5 separate regions of the Homo sapiens genome follow, and regions 1, 2, 3 and 5 are each linked to region 4. The links are contacts of gene promoters, found by promoter capture Hi-C in human tissues and cell types (Jung and others, 2019). All regions are on one chromosome and are shown on one strand. The core of a region is centred on a gene start or on the middle of the fragment in contact, and the rest is flanking DNA. Distances in the headings are between cores, read along the strand shown.

Region 1 (3,544 bases), core at 961-3,460, 220 kb after region 4:
GGTTGGACAAGCTTGCTTTAGGGGCTAAAACACCAGGCCACATTCCAAACCAATTAAATCACTCTTATGGTGAGTCCCAGGCCTCAGCACTTCTTCAAAGCTACCAGAAAGACTCCAAAGTACAGCCAAAGATGAGAATCTCTGCATTAAGGGTTGTAAGTACAACTAAGGTGTCTTACCGATCCCAAAAAGGACTTGGGCTTGCTGAACATTAATAGTAACCAGAATTTAATCCTATTACATTTAGGCAGGGGAGATAGGTATCAATTACACAACCTTCCACTGATCAAATGATAATTTTGAGATGAGCAGAAGTTTCCCTTGTTTGAAAATCATGTTGCTTCACATCCCCACCCACTGAATCCATGGCCATCATTGTAGAAGTGCAGGGGTGAGAATGGGGTGAACACCAGGAAGTCCCTGCTGAACTAGGAGCTTCATGCTAGATTCTGGTATCAAGTCCACAGTGAGATAATAAACGTGCCTTTGTTAGTGGAGAAGAAGTCTTATAATTTCCAGCAGCTTAAGGGTCTGAACATAGAATTCTTAGGAGGCAGAGTGAGAAAGGAATGGGGGATTTGAAGTGAAGTCCTTGTCACGGGCAAGACAAAGCCCTTCAGATGCTGACAGCGGTTCGGTGGGGAGAGCCCAAGTAATGAGACAGGGCTGAAGGTTCTGCCTGGTCTACTCCCCCATCCCAGGAACATGCAGGACAGTGACAGTGACTAGAGAGGCAATGGGAATGTCCAAACTGAGGGGGTGTGCCAACTTCCCACTCACCCTCTGGGAGACTTCATGGGAGCTCTGCATCAACGTGGGGCACAGAGAAGAGCAGACACAGCAATATAGATTGCTCAGGCAGAGAAGGGCAACAGTGGCATGCTATCCATTCCCTGAGGATGGAAGAATCCAGAAGTTTCGACTGACCCTTTGGCAGTGTGCCTGCAAGGGAGCTGTCAGAGTCCAGGAGTGAGGGCGCCCATATCAGAGGTAACAGGCTGGCTGGTGTTGGGTGACAGACAGCAACAGGGAGAGAAGAGGCAGGAGCTGCCCTGTCTGCAGGGCCATGATCACACCCACTGGGCACACCTCATGCATTTCCTGTACCCCAAGAACAGATCACAGGTCCACTGACCATTAGTACGGCATCAGAGACCAGTCACCAAGGGCCAAGACACATGAGCAACTTCACTGGAGCCCACAGGGAAGGCTGCCATGACATGGTTTGTACACTTCCTCCTGGGCCCCCTGTGGCCCAGAAAAGAGGAGGACAGAAATCATAACAATGAGTATCTACTTAAAAGAGATCATCTAGGGCCGGGCGCGGTGGCTCACGCCTGTAATCCCAGCACTCTGGGAGGCCGAGGCGGGCGGATCACGAGGTCAGGAGAGCGAGACCATCCTGGCTAACATGGTGAAACCCTGTCTCTACTAAAAATACAAACAATTAGCCGGGCGTGGTGGCAGGTGCCTGTAGTCCCAGCTACCCGGGGGTTTGAAGCAGGAGAATGGCGTCAACCTGGGAGGCGGAGCTTGCAGTGAGGCGAGATTGCGCCACTGCACTTCAGCCTGGGCAACAGAGTGAGACTCCGTCTCAAAAAAAAAAAAAGAGATCATCTAGGCTGGGTGGGGTGGCTCATGCCTGTAATTCCAGCACTTTGGAAGGCTGAGGCGAGTGGATCACGAGGTCAGGAGTTCGAGACCAGTCTGGCCAACACGGTAAAACCCCGTCTCTACTAATAATACAAAAAAAAAAAAAAAAAGCTGGGCATGGTGGCACACGCCTGTAGTCCCAGCTACTTGGGAGGCTGAGGCAGGAGAATCACTTGAACCCAGGAGGTGGAGGTTGCAGTGAGCTGAGAACATGCCACTGCACTCCAGCCTGGGCTACAGAACGCGACTTTGTCTCCAAAAAAAAAAACAACAACAACAAAAAAAGATCATCTAGAAGAGCTGGGCATAGTGGTGTGTGCCTGCAGTCCCAGCTATTTCGGAGACTGAGGTGAGAGGATTGCTTGACCCCAGGAGTTCAAGACCAGTCTAGGAAACAGAGTGAGACTCCATCTCTCCTCTTTTTTTTTTTTTTTTTTTTTTTGAGACAGGGTCTCACGCTGTTGCCCAGGCTAGAGTGCAGTGATGCAATCACAGTTCACAGCAACCTCCACCTCCCTGACTCAGGTGACCCTCCCACTTCAGCCTCCCAAGTAGTGATTACCTGATACTACTGGCACGTGCTACCATGCCCGGCTAAATTTTGTACTTTTTGTAGAAATGGGGTTTCTCCATGTTGACCAGGCTGGTCTCGAACTCCTGGGCTCAAACGATCCGCCCACTTTGGCCTCTCAAAGTGCTGAGATTATAGGCATGAGCCACCACACCCGGCCAAGTCCTAATACTTTTTTTTTTTTTTTTTTTTTTTTTTTTGAGACCGAGTTTCGCTCTTGTCGCCCAGGCTGGAGTGCAATGGCATGATCTTGGCTCACTGCAACCTCTGCCTCCCCGGTTCAAGCGATTCTTCTGCCTCAGCCTCCTGAGTAGCTGGGATTACAGGCATTGCCATCATGCCCAGCTAAGTTTTGTATTTTTGTAGAGATGGGGTTTCACCATGTTGGCCAGGCTGGTCTCGAACTCCTGACCTCAGGTGATCCGCCCGTCTCGGCCTCCCAAAGTGCTGGGATTACAGGCATGAGCCACCGCGCCCGGCCAATGTCATAATACTTTTGAGTCATATAAGTAGCAGTCCAGACTTGACTAAGTGCAGAAAATAACTTGGTTCAGGGCTTTAGAAAGTCATAACATCACTCTTTAAATTCAAAATGAAGTTAAAAAGAGATTGCCACTAAAATAATAACTCTAACAGCACAATAAATTCTAAGTCATTTTAATAAATGTAGGTAAATGTATCAATAAATTTTAAAGACGTACTAATCAAACCCAGTATCAATCAGGTATTCCATGCATTCCAGCTCCCTGCCAGGGCCTTTAGGATGGGACTTACATCCTACTCTACATTACAAACTGGAGAGCTAACATACATGGGCGTTAACTGTGCCTTGCACGCACCTCTGCACTGTATCTTTCCCACCCTGGCCCAAGACACCACCACCTTACTCCCGACTGGTTCCTGGGGCCTCTGTCCCTCTCCAGTCCCTTCTCCACACCACAGCCAGTCTGGACTTTAAAAAACACAAATCAAATCATGATGCTCCTCTGCTTGAGCCCCTTCCATGGCTTCCCAGTGTTCTCACATTAAAAACCAAATGTCTCACCCAGATTGGCAGGCTCCTGGCTGCCTGGCCCATCCGTCTCCTCTGCTTACCACCCTCAGTTACAGGTATCTGCTGCCAGTTCCCTGACACACCACATCTTCCTGCTCACCTCGGGACCATCCCATAAGTGGTTCCCTCTCTGGAAGGCTCTTCTGGATCTCAGCATGTCTGCCACCCTCTCATCCCTCAAGGCTCAGCCTACATGCCCTGTCCTCAGCAGGACCTTCCCCATGCCCCCTCCTGGGATGCTGTCCTCCAGAACCCCGCCCTTCCCT
Region 2 (3,189 bases), core at 431-2,930, 180 kb after region 4:
AGAATTCACCCTCCAATTCTTGAATAGTCTTTGGGAAACCAAAGACAAAGCTGGCCTTTTATCTCCGGCCAGCACCTGGCTCATCTTTCTCTCTAGGCTTTTGAGCTCTTTTGACAGATGTTTAGGGAGAGTTTTTGTTTTTTGTGTTTTTGAGACAGGTTCTCACTCTGTCACCCAGGCTGGAGTTTGGTGGCATGATCATGGCCCACTGCAGTCTCAACATCCTGGGCTCAAGCAATCTTCCCATCTCAGACTCCTGAGTAACTGGGACCACAAGCACATGCCACCATGCCTGGGTAATTTTTTTTTCTTTTGTAGAGGTGGGATCTCACTATGTTGCCCAGGCTGATCTTGAACTCCTGGCCTCAAGTGATCCTCCCTCCTCAGCCTCCCAAAGTGCTAGGATTACAGGTGTGAGCCACTATCCCTGGCCCTAGAAAAGTCTTTTTGGTTTAATTACCTGGAGTTAATCAATAACTTGCCCAAGAATATGCTGCTTCTTAGACTAGACTTGGCTGAGAATTCAGGGCCCAACTGTTAACTTTTGGAGGTTAATTTCTGACCAATAAATGGCTAACACAACTGCATTACATGGAGGAAATTGCAAAAACATATTTGAAATAGCACATTTTTAGTAGAAGGGCAGGCTGTGTCTTGAGTTAATTCCTGACTTGACATTTGCTCCTCACGAGCCACACTTTCCTCCTCTGTTATCAGCAAAACACCATGCGGCCTGCATAGCCGGTACAGAATAAGATTTAAACCACCACTACCACCATCCTGAGAAGCTTTGATATATTTAAAAATACATGGCAAAAGTATGATATTATTGCTGAACTCTGTCTCTAAATCAGAATACTAAATTATGACTTAAAATACACCCACTGATTTATTATTAAAAACATAGTATTTAGCCTGGGTGTGGTGGCTTACACCTATAATCCCAGCACTTTGGGAGGCCAAGACAGATGGATCACCTGAGGTCAGGAGTTCTAGATCAGCCTGGCCAACATGGTGAAATCCTGCCTCTACCAAAAATACAAAAATTAGCCAGGTGTGGTGGCACATGCCTGTAATCCCAACTACTCGGGAGGCTGAGGCATGAGAATTGGTTGAACTCAGACGGTGGAGGTTGTGGTGAGCCAAGACAGCACCACTGCACTCTAGCCTGGGTGACAGCATATGACTCCATCTCAAAATAATAATAATAATAATAATAATAAATGAAAATATAGTATTTAATACTGTTATAAATTGTGGCAAATGAAATTTTTAAAAACTGAAAAGAATACTATGTTTTGATATGAAGCATGTTCTCTGCATGATTTCACACTATCTTCTCTTTATTTTGGCAGTGGTTATATACACTTGAATCTTTTTTCTTGAGATGGAGTCTTGCTCTTGTCAGCCACGCTGGAGTGCAGTGGTGCAATCTTGGCTCACTGCAACCTCCACCTCCTGGGTTCAAGTGATCCTCCTGCCTCAGCCTCCCAGAAGCTGGGATTACAGGTGTGTGCCACCATGCCCACCTAATTTTTGTATTTTTAGTGCAGAGAGGGTTTCATCATGTTGGCCAGGCTGATCTCGAACTCCTGACCTCAGGTGATCTGCCTGCCTCGGCCTCCCAAAGTGCTGGGATTACAGGCATGAGCCACGGCGCCTGGCCACATATTTGATTCGTTAGTCACAGATTTAGCAAACCAAAACCTCTTAAATTTATTTTGTAAAAATCACCTGTGGTCCTGGTCCAACGGAGAGATTTTAATTAGTAGCTATATTTGGAATAAGTAACTTTAATGATTTTCACCATAGTCTCGAAGCTATTTCTTACTTCATATTAGAGGAAATGGATGCAGTTTCCACATTTATAAAGCTTTGAATCATTTAAGCTGCATTTTCTTTCTTTTTTTTTTTTTTAATCTTAATTTTGAGCTGGAGCTCAAAGATCTGTTTTATTGCCTAGGCCCGGGCTTTCTGTAGCCAGATATATCACATTATAGATCATACTCAGTCTTACTTAATTGGATTCCTAGGAATTGCAGGAAAAGAAATAACTGGCAATTTAAAGCCTGCATCTCTTTGAAAAGAGACTTTGCTGATCTCATTAAATGGAAATTGCTGACTATTATGACCCTAATAGAGATATTTGAATCCTTGCATTAAGAGGATGCCTGGTTTGAAGAATAAAACAATGAGAAAAAATTTTTTGTTGTTTTTTATTTATTTTTTAACAATTACTGTTCAAAAGGGGAAAGGTTATTTAAGGGTATGAAGAGATTAATAAAAGACTGAAAACACTTTACTACTTTTATAAAAACCTGGATAGGTTTTTATATCAGAACCTTTAAGGATCAAAAAGACCTTGCAGAGTTCCTAAGCACAGTTCAGCTTTCCACACTGTTCCAGAAAGACTCAGATATCCTAATTCCTATTGAAGACATCTCCTGAGCTCTTAAGTCTTTTAATAAAAGCAAGGCACCTGGGAGAGGAGCCTTCCCATCCTAATTTCACACCCCTATTGAAGAGGAGTTGGCTCCCCATGCCCCTGTATACATTTAATCATTCCCTGCACATTAGTTCACTGGCTCGCTGTGGGAAGTATACACCTAGCCACTCCACTAATTTATTTCAACAAAAGTGACAGCACTGAGGAATTTAAAAGTTAGCCAAATGGATTCGTGTATGTGTACGGTGTGTCTATGTAAGCATAAATGGGGCTTTAAGGTCTACGTACTTTGTGTGTGTGTGTGTGTGTGTGTGTGTGTGTGTGTTATGTATGCACATGTGCACAAGAAGAAGTATAAATGAGAGCACAAAGTAGAGAGAATATATATGCTCAGGTGGAAAGGACCCTCCATCTGTATGGCAATTAAAGTAATAATAATAAAGAGTACTAATAAATTAATAATAAAGACTAATAATAAGCCAATAACTTTGAATGATATTGGGCGTTTCTTTCTGAGCAACTCACACTGACAAATGGAGTGCCTCCCCGGTTCTGCAGTCTAACAGGTGACTACAGGAGGCCTTGCAGGAATTTCTGTTTGGGGAAGAGGCACTTAGGAAGGGGCTCACTGTGGGGGTCATAGCTGCACTCCCTTCTCTACAGCACAGCCTCCAGTTGTTCTCGCCTCCACAACCACTCACCTTCTTTTAGGCCTTGGCAGGAGAAGCATTCAAAGAGCATGG
Region 3 (3,493 bases), core at 959-3,458, 230 kb before region 4:
GGTATTTTTTGTTATCCATCTAATTATCAGTTTCCCTTAATCACTGTAAGTTTTTTGTTATGCAATAGCAACTAAATTTGTTTCCAAAAATATGCTTTTTAAGGTCCTTTTAAATTTACCTTGCATGATACATATAATATCTGAATACAAGTAAATGTCTTATGATCACAAAAAGTGGGCATTTTTCATCATTAAAGTGATTCATTTAAAAAAAAAAAATTATGAGCCAAGTGTGCCTGTAGTCCCAGGTACTTGGAAGGCTGAGCCAGGAGTATCTCTTGAGCCCAGATACTGTTCAAAGCTGTTGTGCGCTATGATGGCACCTATGACTAGCCACTACACTTCAGCATGGGCAACACAGCAAGACAAAAGAAGAGAAAGAAATTATGAAAAGCTGAAATCACTGCTCCAAAATTCTACTCATTTCCTAAATTCTGTGACTCTATGGTTCTGGACAAATTTTAATAGAAGAATGGGGGAAAGGGTTGGGTTTGAGCAGTATGTTAAGGAAATGAGATTTAATTTACCATAGGCTTTATGTCAGGAATGAAGGACAGAAAGAATCATTGTAAAAATTAAAATGTATGATACATATTTCATTCTTAGAAATACCACAAGTTAGTAAATTGCTATATTATGAATTCAGATTTTAAAGCGTATAGATTTTAGGCTTACCAAGAGTTGCTACTTGGATAACTACAAAACCAGGGTCAGAAGAAAAAGACAGCCATGGGGCTGGGCACAGTGGGTCACGCCTGTAATCTCAGCACTTTGGGAGGCCGAGGCAGGTGAGCTGCACGAGCTCAGGAGTTTGAAACCAGGCTGAGCAACATGGCAAAAACTTTTCTCTACAAAAAATATAAAAATTAGCCAGGCATGGTGGTGTATACCTGTGGTCCCATGTGGTCCCAGCTACTCAGGAAGCTGAGGTAGGAGGATTGCTTGAGCCCAGCGGGTAGAGGCTGCAGTGAGCCGAGACTGCACCGCTGCACTCCAGCCTGGATGACAGAGCAAGACCCTGTCTCGAAAAAAAAAAAAAAGCCACGGAAAAACAGCTGAACTGTCCAAAAGATCCAGATTGTGGTTTTTAATACTATTCCATGATAAAAGAAAAGAGTGTTTCTGGTAGAAAAGGCCAGTTCCAGGATTGGTTCAGGAAGTTAGCACATGAGATAAACTGAGTCAGAAAGAAAGCTTTCAAAAACTAATGTAGCAGATAGAAAGGAGCACCCACTGAATATAGTGATGTCAATAGGAACATCAAAAAGAATACTGGGGAGATTACAGGGTTAATTCATTCTTTTCAAGACCTCAGAATAAACCACTTCCTGCTATCTCTACTCGTGTTTGAACTTCTTGGACATGAGTCACTGATTTTAAAATACATGGCTCTTTAAAAAGAAATGTAGAGAAAAACCAATTTTACACATTAAACTAAGTGAAATAAAATATCAAGGTAAAATCCAACATAATTTTTTTTGTTTTTTGTCTTGATACGAAGTCTCACTCCGGAGTGCAGCGGTGCAATCCTGGCTCATTGCAATCTCCGCCTCTTGGGTTCAAGCAATTCTCCTGCCTCAGCCTCCAAGTAGCTGGGACTACAGGCACCCCCCACCATGCCGGGCTAATATGGTTTTATATTTTTAGTAGAGACAGGGTTTCACCATGTTGGCCGAGCTGGTCTCGAAATCCTGACCTCAAGTGATCCACCCGCCTCGGCCTCCCAAAGTTCTGGGATTAAAGGCGTGAGCCACCATGCCTGGCCCCAATACAATGTTTTTATAAGGCAAAGAAAAAGGGACCAGAGTAACATCCATGTAGGGCAGGAAAGCACAGGAGAAAAACATACCAATACAATAGATCAAAACTATCATCTCATTTCTTTTTTTTTTTTTTTTTGAGACGGAGTCTCACTCTGTCACCCAGGCTGGAGTGCAGTGGCGCGACCTCAGCTCACTGCAACCTCCACCTCCCAGGTTCAAGCAATTCTCCTGCCTCAGCCTCCCAAGTAGCTGGGACTACAGACGCGCACCACCACGCCCGGCTAATTTTTTTTGTATTTTTAGTAGAGACGGAGTTTCATTATGTTGGCCAAGCTGGTATCGAACTCCTGATCTCGTGATCCGCCTACCTTGGCCTCCCAAAGTGCTGGGATTACAAGCGTGAGCCACCGCACCTGGCCTATCATCTAATATTTCAAAACAAGTTAAAAGACATTTTTAAGTGACACATAACATAAAATAGTATAAATCAGATTTAGAAAAGCTCAGAAATGAGATGACAGAACTCAGGATACAACTAGAAATGAAAAAGAAAATCATTCCAGAAATGAAAACAGCTACAAAGAATGTAAGAGTGAATAAGGAAAACAGACAATGCCTTATGAGAAAGACAAATTGAAAATAAAAATATTTAATTTAAATATAAAAAATGAATAAATAATACAGAAGATGAGAAATATTGAAAATAAAAAAGAACATCCAACATATGAATAATAGGAATCCTTGAAGAGAACCAAAGCAAAAAAAAGAGCAAATATTAAAAATACAACTCAAGAAAATTTACTTGAACTAAAAATACATATTAAAAGACCACACTACAGGAGAAATTCATTCCAGGATGACCAACATACCAAGAAAAATTCTAGCAATATTACTTAAGTAAAAGAAAATGAAAAAAAAAAAAACAGGAATAGGTAACTTATACAAAAGAGAAATTTAAATAATCATCAGACTTTGACAGCAACATTTTATACCAAAAGAAAATGGAATAATAAACTCTTTTGAGTAAGAAATTCAAGGAAAGAAAGTATGAGCTAATAATTTTATGTTCTTTTCGTGGAACAGGGTCTTGCTCTGTTACCCAGCCTGGAGTGCAGGGGTGCCATTATAGTTCACTGCAGCCTCAAACTCCTGGGCTCAAGTGATCCTCCCATCTTGACCTCCCAAGTAGCTAGGCCTACAGATGTGTACTGCTGTGCCCAGTTTTTTTTTTTTTTTTTTTTGGGTAGAGATGGAGTCTTGCTATGTTGCCTATGATGGTCTCAAACTCCTGGCCTCAAGTGATCCTCCTGCCTCAGTCTCCCAAAGTGTTGGGATTGCAGGCATGAGCCACCAGGCTGAGTCAAGCTAAGAATTTTAAATCCATAGAAGTCAGTGCAACTATGAAAGGCAGAGAAAATTTAACAACATGCAAGAACTCATAAACTCTGAGAAGTCCAATACAACAGAGGTTTGCAAACTAGTGTGTAGGCCAAATCTGGCCCATTCACTCCCTGCTTTTGGTTTTTTTTTTTTTTTTTTTTTTTTTTTTTTTGAGACGCAGTTTCAGTCTTGTTGCCCAGGCTGGAGTGCAATGGTGCAATCTCAGCTCACTGCAACCTCCAGCTCCCGGGTTCAAGCGATTCTCCTGCCTCAGCCTCCCAAGTAGCTGGGATTACAGGCATGCACCACCACGCCCAGCTAATTTTGTATTTTTAGTAGGGACGGGGTTT
Region 4 (3,353 bases), core at 317-2,816:
TATTTCTGATTACTTCCCACGGCCATCTCCCCAATAACGGCTTTGTGCAGTCTACTTTTACTTGGACTGCAAATGAATTAAGTTGGAAACATATTTTATTGTATCCCCAAAGAAAAAGATCACATTCTAATCATTATCACTTTTTTTTTTTTTACAAGTAATGTTACGGATGACAGCAAAATACAAATTTTAAAATCCTGGCTTTAATATTTGAGCATTTTGTAACATCACAAATTTCAAAAATGCTTTCTTTTAAAATCTGAAAAGGACACTTTTGGGGCAGTAAAATCCTTAATTTGGGGGGAGGGTCCCACATTTCTCCGCCCACCAAAAAGTGATGCAGGGAATTTCTATTTTTAAAAAATCGATTTGATACCAAACCTCTGGAAAGGGATGGGATTCGCTTTTTTAAAAGCCAGTTTTTATGGTTTTCAAATAAGACATCTTAGAGGTAGACTGGTTTATGAGAAAACGATAAAAAGGTGAAAGATTATTCTATCAGTAAATAAAAAGCAAAGATATTTCTTGATTTCAAAATAATATTTTATTGGATCAGTTCTAATTGTGGATCAGTCAAAGAAACTGAGGCATACATGTGGACTGTGGACTGGGATCTGGACCGGAAGGAGAAATTCTACTTAAAGGACGGTGCTTATTTAGCGGCTTCTCTCTGCAGAGATGCCGTTTGGCCTGCCCCGCCACTGTATCTCCGAAAGGCAAAAGTTAGAATCGCTGCCCGATCTCCTCTCCCCCGCCCCTACTGTAGATCTAATTGGAAGTGGCAGATCTAGAACCGATGAGTAGTGAGATTACACTTCCATCCAACTCCTTTGAACCATGTTGAAAAGGACTCTCCATGAGATAAAAAGTCGAGGTAAAACGGTTCCTTTGGGGGAAAGACTTATTTTGACTTCACCTGGTGTTTCGCGGAGCCAAATCACTCAAGTTGTCTTGCAACCAATAGACTTTATCTTCTTCACTCCGTCTACTGTCTATGCGCCCTAGGTGAGCGCTAGGCAGGTTGGGTGTCCAAACAAGAAGTTTCTAGCATCACCACTACAGGTAGGACGGGCTATTCACCCTTCTCTCCCAAACAGCAGCCCAGGGCTCTTCCACCCCACAAGAGAGGTGGAGGTAGAGGCAGAAAGTACTTGGGTGCCAGAAGGCACACAGAGAAGTGAGGCCAAGGTTTTTGAAACTGGGACTGCCCCTCGGGGGTCCTCAGCCCCTCACCACCCCGCGCCCTCTGCCCGCGTGCCGGCGCGCGCTCCGCGAGGTGCGTCAAGGAAGAGCGGGGCGCTGCGCGCGCAGGCCAGGCTCAAACTTTCTGCAAGTGCAACTTGGGCATCCCCGGGGAGGCGGGGACGTGTGGCTCCAGCGGAGGAGGGGGCGCGAAGCGAAAGCGCAGGCGGCCGCAAGCACGGGGGCGAATCCCCGCTGGGTCGAGGGCCTGAACGGGAGCCAATCGAGCAGCCGAGGCTACTGCCAATCACGCGGCTCCCTCCAATCCCACCCGTGCCATTTCCAAAATCTCGGTCCCACTGTGCAGCTCAAATGTGGTGTTCACTCTGCCAATCGCTGGAGGATAGAGTGGGAACAGGAATAAGCAGAGTTAAGAGGCCAGGACAAAAGAAGTTAAAGAGCGCCCAATACATACATGTTTTTGAAGGCGGGCAGAGGGAATAAAGTCCCCCCAGTGAGGGTCTATGGGCCTGATTGTGTAGTTCTGATGGAGCCCCCTTTGAGCAAGAGGAACCCGCCAGCGCTGAGATTAGCGGATTTGGCAACGGCTCAGGTCCAGCCGCTTCAGAATATGACAGGCTTCCCGGCGCTGGCCGGCCCGCCCGCCCACTCCCAACTCCGGGCCGCCGTCGCGCACCTCCGCCTGCGGGACCTGGGCGCTGACCCCGGCGTGGCCACCACTCCGCTCGGACCCGAGCACATGGCCCAGGCGAGCACGCTGGGCCTCAGCCCTCCCTCCCAGGCGTTCCCGGCACACCCGGAGGCTCCGGCAGCCGCCGCCCGTGCTGCAGCCTTGGTCGCGCACCCCGGCGCGGGCAGCTACCCCTGCGGCGGGGGCAGCAGTGGCGCGCAGCCCTCCGCGCCCCCGCCCCCAGCCCCTCCTCTTCCTCCCACCCCTTCACCCCCTCCCCCTCCCCCGCCTCCTCCTCCTCCTGCCCTCTCGGGCTACACCACCACCAACAGTGGCGGCGGCGGCAGCAGCGGCAAAGGCCACAGCAGGGACTTCGTCCTCCGGAGGGACCTTTCCGCCACGGCCCCCGCGGCGGCCATGCACGGGGCCCCGCTCGGAGGGGAGCAGCGGTCCGGCACCGGCTCCCCCCAGCACCCGGCCCCGCCTCCCCACTCGGCCGGCATGTTCATCTCCGCCAGCGGCACCTACGCGGGCCCGGACGGCAGCGGCGGCCCGGCGCTCTTCCCCGCGCTGCACGACACGCCGGGGGCCCCAGGCGGCCACCCGCACCCGCTCAACGGCCAGATGCGCCTGGGGCTGGCGGCGGCAGCGGCAGCCGCGGCGGCTGAGCTGTACGGCCGCGCCGAACCGCCCTTCGCGCCGCGCTCTGGGGACGCGCACTACGGGGCGGTTGCGGCCGCAGCGGCGGCCGCCCTGCACGGCTACGGAGCCGTGAACTTAAACCTGAACCTGGCGGCTGCGGCGGCCGCAGCAGCGGCCGGGCCCGGGCCCCACCTGCAGCACCACGCGCCGCCCCCGGCGCCGCCGCCGCCGCCGGCGCCCGCGCAGCACCCGCACCAGCACCACCCCCACCTCCCAGGGGCGGCTGGGGCCTTCCTGCGCTACATGCGGCAGCCAATCAAGCAGGAGCTCATCTGCAAGTGGATCGACCCCGACGAGCTGGCCGGGCTGCCGCCGCCGCCGCCGCCGCCGCCGCCGCCGCCGCCACCGCCCCCGGCCGGCGGCGCCAAGCCCTGCTCCAAAACTTTCGGCACCATGCACGAGCTGGTGAATCACGTCACGGTGGAGCACGTGGGAGGCCCCGAGCAGAGCAGCCACGTCTGCTTCTGGGAGGACTGTCCGCGCGAGGGCAAGCCCTTCAAGGCCAAATACAAGCTCATCAACCACATCCGCGTGCACACCGGCGAGAAGCCCTTTCCCTGCCCTTTCCCCGGCTGCGGCAAGGTCTTCGCGCGCTCCGAGAACCTCAAGATCCACAAGCGTACTCATACAGGTGGGTGTCTGTCCCCGGCCGCGCCGCCGCCGCCGCCACCAGCTCCTGCGCCGCCGCCGCTTCCGCCGCTGCTTCTCCTCCTCCTCCTGCTCGCCTTAATTTTTTTCTCCTTCTGCTGCTTCTCTTCGCATACGTATAACCCGGACA
Region 5 (3,587 bases), core at 370-2,869, 140 kb before region 4:
AGAGACAGGGTTTCACCGTGTTAGCCAGGATGGTCTCGATCTCCTGCCCTCATGATCTGCCCGCCTCAGCCTCCCAAAGTGCTGGGATTACAGGCGTGAGCCACTACGCCCGGCCTCTTTTTTTTTCTTTTTCCTGTCCAGGGGATTCTTTTTAATGCTGCTTTTTTTACATATATATATATACTTTAAGTTCTAGGGTACATGTGCACAACGTGCAGGTTTGTTACATAGGTATACATGTCTCATGTTGTTTTGCTGCACCCATCAACTCGTCATTTACATTAGGTATTTCCCCTAATGCTATCCCTCCCCCATCCCCCAACCCCACAACAGGACACAGTGTGTGATGTTCCCTACCCTGTGTCCAAGTGTCTTCATTGTTCAATTCCCACCTATGAGTGAGAACGTGCAGTGTTTTGTTTTCTGTCCCTGTGATAGTTTGCTGAGAATGATGGTTTCCAGCTTCATCCATGTCCTGTAACTTATTTTCAAATTGTTTAGCCAAAAAAAAAAAAAATGCACACACACAATGTACATATGGATACAAATATAAAGCAAACAAGCCAAAATGTTAACAATTGCTGAATCTAGGTGAAGGGTATACAGATACCGTTATACTGGTATATAACAGTAAACTGATACCAATATACTGGTACTACTTTTCTAATTTTTTTCATTATGTTTGAAGAAATGCTTCAGAAAAAAATATAAATGAATGACCAATAACACAAAAAAGTACTCAACATCAGTATTCATCAGGAAAATCTAAAATTAAAAACACAATGACATACTGCTTCACAACCACTTAAAAATAAAACACAAAATCAAATGGACTGAAAACACCAAGTGTTGGCAAGGACACAAAAGCACCCTGACCTAGACATTTCTGGAGGGAGTAAAATATGATACAACCATGAAGGAGAACTATTTAGCAGCTTCTTATAAATTTAAACATGCATGTATTTATTCTAGGCATCAGCAAAATACTGTCTACCCACTGGCCAAATCTGATCCAAGGGCTGTTTTTGCACAGCTCTCAAGCTAACAATAGTTTTCACATTTTTAAAGTGTTGTTAAAACAAAACAAAACAAAACAAAAAGAAGCATATGTAACAGCGACCACAGGGGCCTGCAAAATCTAAAATATATTTGCTATCCAGACAAAAATGTATTTACTTTCAAACAAAAAAAGGTTGCCAACTCCTTATCTACCCTAAGACCCAGCTACTCCACTCCTAGATATTTACCCAAAAAAAATCAAAATTATGTTCACAAAAAGACATGCAAAAGTTATACTTATAAAAATCTTGTTCATGGTATCTAAAAATTGGGGAAGGGGGGTAATTGGCCAGCTCATCCTAAAATTCACATGGAAGAGCGAAGGACCAAGAATACTGAAGACAATTTTGAAGAACATGTTGGAGGGAAGGGACCAACAGAGGTAAACTGCATAATCATCTCTAAAAGCCAACATTTTTCTATCAAACATTAATTGTTTGCAAGTTAGCTGGCTTTCCTTCCTTGTGTGACTTATTAGTTGATATGTGCAGTATCCATTCATCTTTTTCCTTGCATAATTACCTTAAAAATTAGTTGTTTATAATAGACAATGAATAGCTTTTGCAATCAATTGTTGCAGTATTTTCCTACTGGAATAGTATTTACATTTCCACATGTGAAATTAACATACAAAGCCTATAAAGTTTTTTACTCCAAGTTACATTTAAAATGCTCACCTCTTGAAAACAAACATGCAAAAATTAATACATCTGAATAGCATGGCTTTTTCATATTACTGATATTATAAAGCTGATTAGCTATGATAGTAACCTCTGTGATCACGTGCTGAGGATGCAAAAGATGCTGTTACAGGAATTCACCTTTTCAGCCTCCTTGAGACTGAAACAGAAACCACATAGCAGATTTGACCCTACTGTTGAGGTTTAAATGAAACTTTTGACATTCCCACCATCATTATCCTGCTTTTACTTATAGTATCTTTCTAGAAATTGACCTAAAGTAGGTCATAGTAAGAGAAAGTTTTGACTGAGTGTGCAATTGCTTCCATTGTGGGGTCTGGTAAATTTTATTATAAATTATGTATCATAATCTCTGGTATATTCCCTACTGCTTTCAGCCAGAAGTGGTGAAAAGTCTCTAAAATGTAAAACTACCACATCTGCTTCAGGGAAGGTACAAATGAGAAAAACCTAACAACAATTCTTTTGAAACCACTTTTGCAAAGTCTGAAAAGTCTACCTGTAGATCAGAATTCAATCATGCGCCATATGACAGCTTGGTCGGTAATGTACTGCATCTACATTTCAGCTCCAATAATGGAGCTGAAAAATTCCTATTTGCCTAGTGATGTCTTTTTTTATTTTTGTGGGTATACAGGAGGTGTATATGTTTATGGAGTACATGAAATATTTTGATACAAGCATACAATGTATAATAATCACATCAGGATAAATGGGGTAGCCATCATCTAAATCATTCATTTATTTGTGTTACAAGCATCCCAATTCTATTCCCTAAATTATTCTAAAATGTACCACAAATTACTGCAGACTGTAGTCACCCTGTTGTGCTATCAAATACAAGATCTTATTTATTCCATCTAACTATATTCTTGTACTCATTAATCATCCCCACCCCTCCCGCTCCATACACCCTGCCAAGCCTCTGGTAACCATCCTTCTACTCTCTCTCTATGAGTCCAATTGTTTTCATTTTTAGCTCCCACAAATGAGTGAGTACATGCAAAACTTGTCTTTCTGTGCCTGGCTTATTTCACTTAACATGTCCTCCACCAGTTCCATCCATGCTATTGCAAATGACAAGATCTCATTCTTTTCTATGGCTGAATGGTACCGTACATATGTACATTTTCTTTATCCATTCATCTGTTGATGGATACTTAAGTTGCCTCCAAATCTTGGCTATTGTGAAAAATGCTACAATAAACATGGGAGTGCAGATATCTCCTCCATATACTGATTTCCCTGGTGCTAGGTGTACACCTAGAAGCAGATGTACATCTAGCAGCCGGATCATATGATAGTTTTAGTTTTTTGAGAAACCTCCATACTGTTCTTTATAGTGGTTGTATTAATTTACATTCCCACCAACAGCATATGAGGGTTCTTTCTCTACATCCTCGCCAGTACTCGTTATGTCTTTTGGATAAAAGCCGTTTTAACCGGGGTAAGATTTTATCTCATTGTACTTTTGATTTGCATTTCCGTAATGATCAGTAATGTCGAGCACCTTTACATATACCTGTTTGTGATTTGTATGTCTTCTTTTGAGAAATGACTATTCAGATCTTTTGCCCCTTTTTATTTTCCTTTGGACATAGTCTCGCCTGGTCGCCCACGCTACAGCGCAGTGGCACGATCTTGGCTCACAGCAACCTCCACCTCCCAGGTTCAAGCTTCTTGCCCCAGTCTCCAAGTAGCTGGGACTACAGATGTGTGCCACCACACGCGGCTAATTTTTGTATTTTTAGTAGAGACAGGGTTTCACCATCTTAGCCAGGCTGGTTAAACATCCATTTATTTATTCTAGGTCTCAAACTCATGACC

The links. The method cuts DNA at HindIII sites, captures the fragments that hold promoters and counts their contacts. A contact is called where the count stands out against the background at its distance.
Region 1: a fragment that was not itself captured here is called in contact with the fragment with the promoter of ZIC5 in region 4 in 1 of the 25 tissues and cell types used here (H1 embryonic stem cells).
Region 2: a fragment that was not itself captured here is called in contact with the fragment with the promoter of ZIC5 in region 4 in 1 of the 25 tissues and cell types used here (H1 embryonic stem cells).
Region 3: a fragment that was not itself captured here is called in contact with the fragment with the promoter of ZIC5 in region 4 in 1 of the 25 tissues and cell types used here (IMR-90 fibroblasts).
Region 5: a contact is called between a fragment that was not itself captured here and the fragment with the promoter of ZIC5 in region 4, in 1 of the 25 tissues and cell types used here (mesendoderm cells).

Annotation. Positions count from the first base shown.
Region 1 is chr13:99,752,968-99,756,511 of GRCh38, reverse strand. The region is part of intron 1 of CLYBL (citramalyl-CoA lyase); the gene reads right to left. All of the region lies in intron 4 of CLYBL-AS3 (CLYBL antisense RNA 3), which reads left to right. Among named protein-coding and RNA genes, the nearest start is that of CLYBL-AS1, 26 kb to the right of the region's middle. The HindIII fragment of the contact is 4,623 bases long and covers 1-3,544 here.
Region 2 is chr13:99,792,616-99,795,804 of GRCh38, reverse strand. All of the region lies in intron 2 of CLYBL (citramalyl-CoA lyase), which reads right to left. The region is part of intron 1 of CLYBL-AS3 (CLYBL antisense RNA 3); the gene reads left to right. Among named protein-coding and RNA genes, the nearest start is that of CLYBL-AS1, 65 kb to the right of the region's middle. The HindIII fragment of the contact is 4,897 bases long and covers 1-3,189 here.
Region 3 is chr13:100,201,680-100,205,172 of GRCh38, reverse strand. All of the region lies in intron 6 of PCCA (propionyl-CoA carboxylase subunit alpha), which reads right to left. Among named protein-coding and RNA genes, the nearest start is that of PCCA, 110 kb to the right of the region's middle. The HindIII fragment of the contact is 3,586 bases long and covers 416-3,493 here.
Region 4 is chr13:99,969,980-99,973,332 of GRCh38, reverse strand. It overlaps ZIC5 (Zic family zinc finger 5), which reads left to right and starts at 1,566. Exons shown (of 2, transcript NM_033132.5): 1 at 1,566-3,206. The coding sequence starts at 1,730. The HindIII fragment of the contact is 23,774 bases long and covers 1-3,353 here.
Region 5 is chr13:100,114,363-100,117,949 of GRCh38, reverse strand. All of the region lies in intron 4 of PCCA (propionyl-CoA carboxylase subunit alpha), which reads right to left. Among named protein-coding and RNA genes, the nearest start is that of PCCA, 27 kb to the right of the region's middle. The HindIII fragment of the contact is 8,898 bases long and covers 1-3,587 here.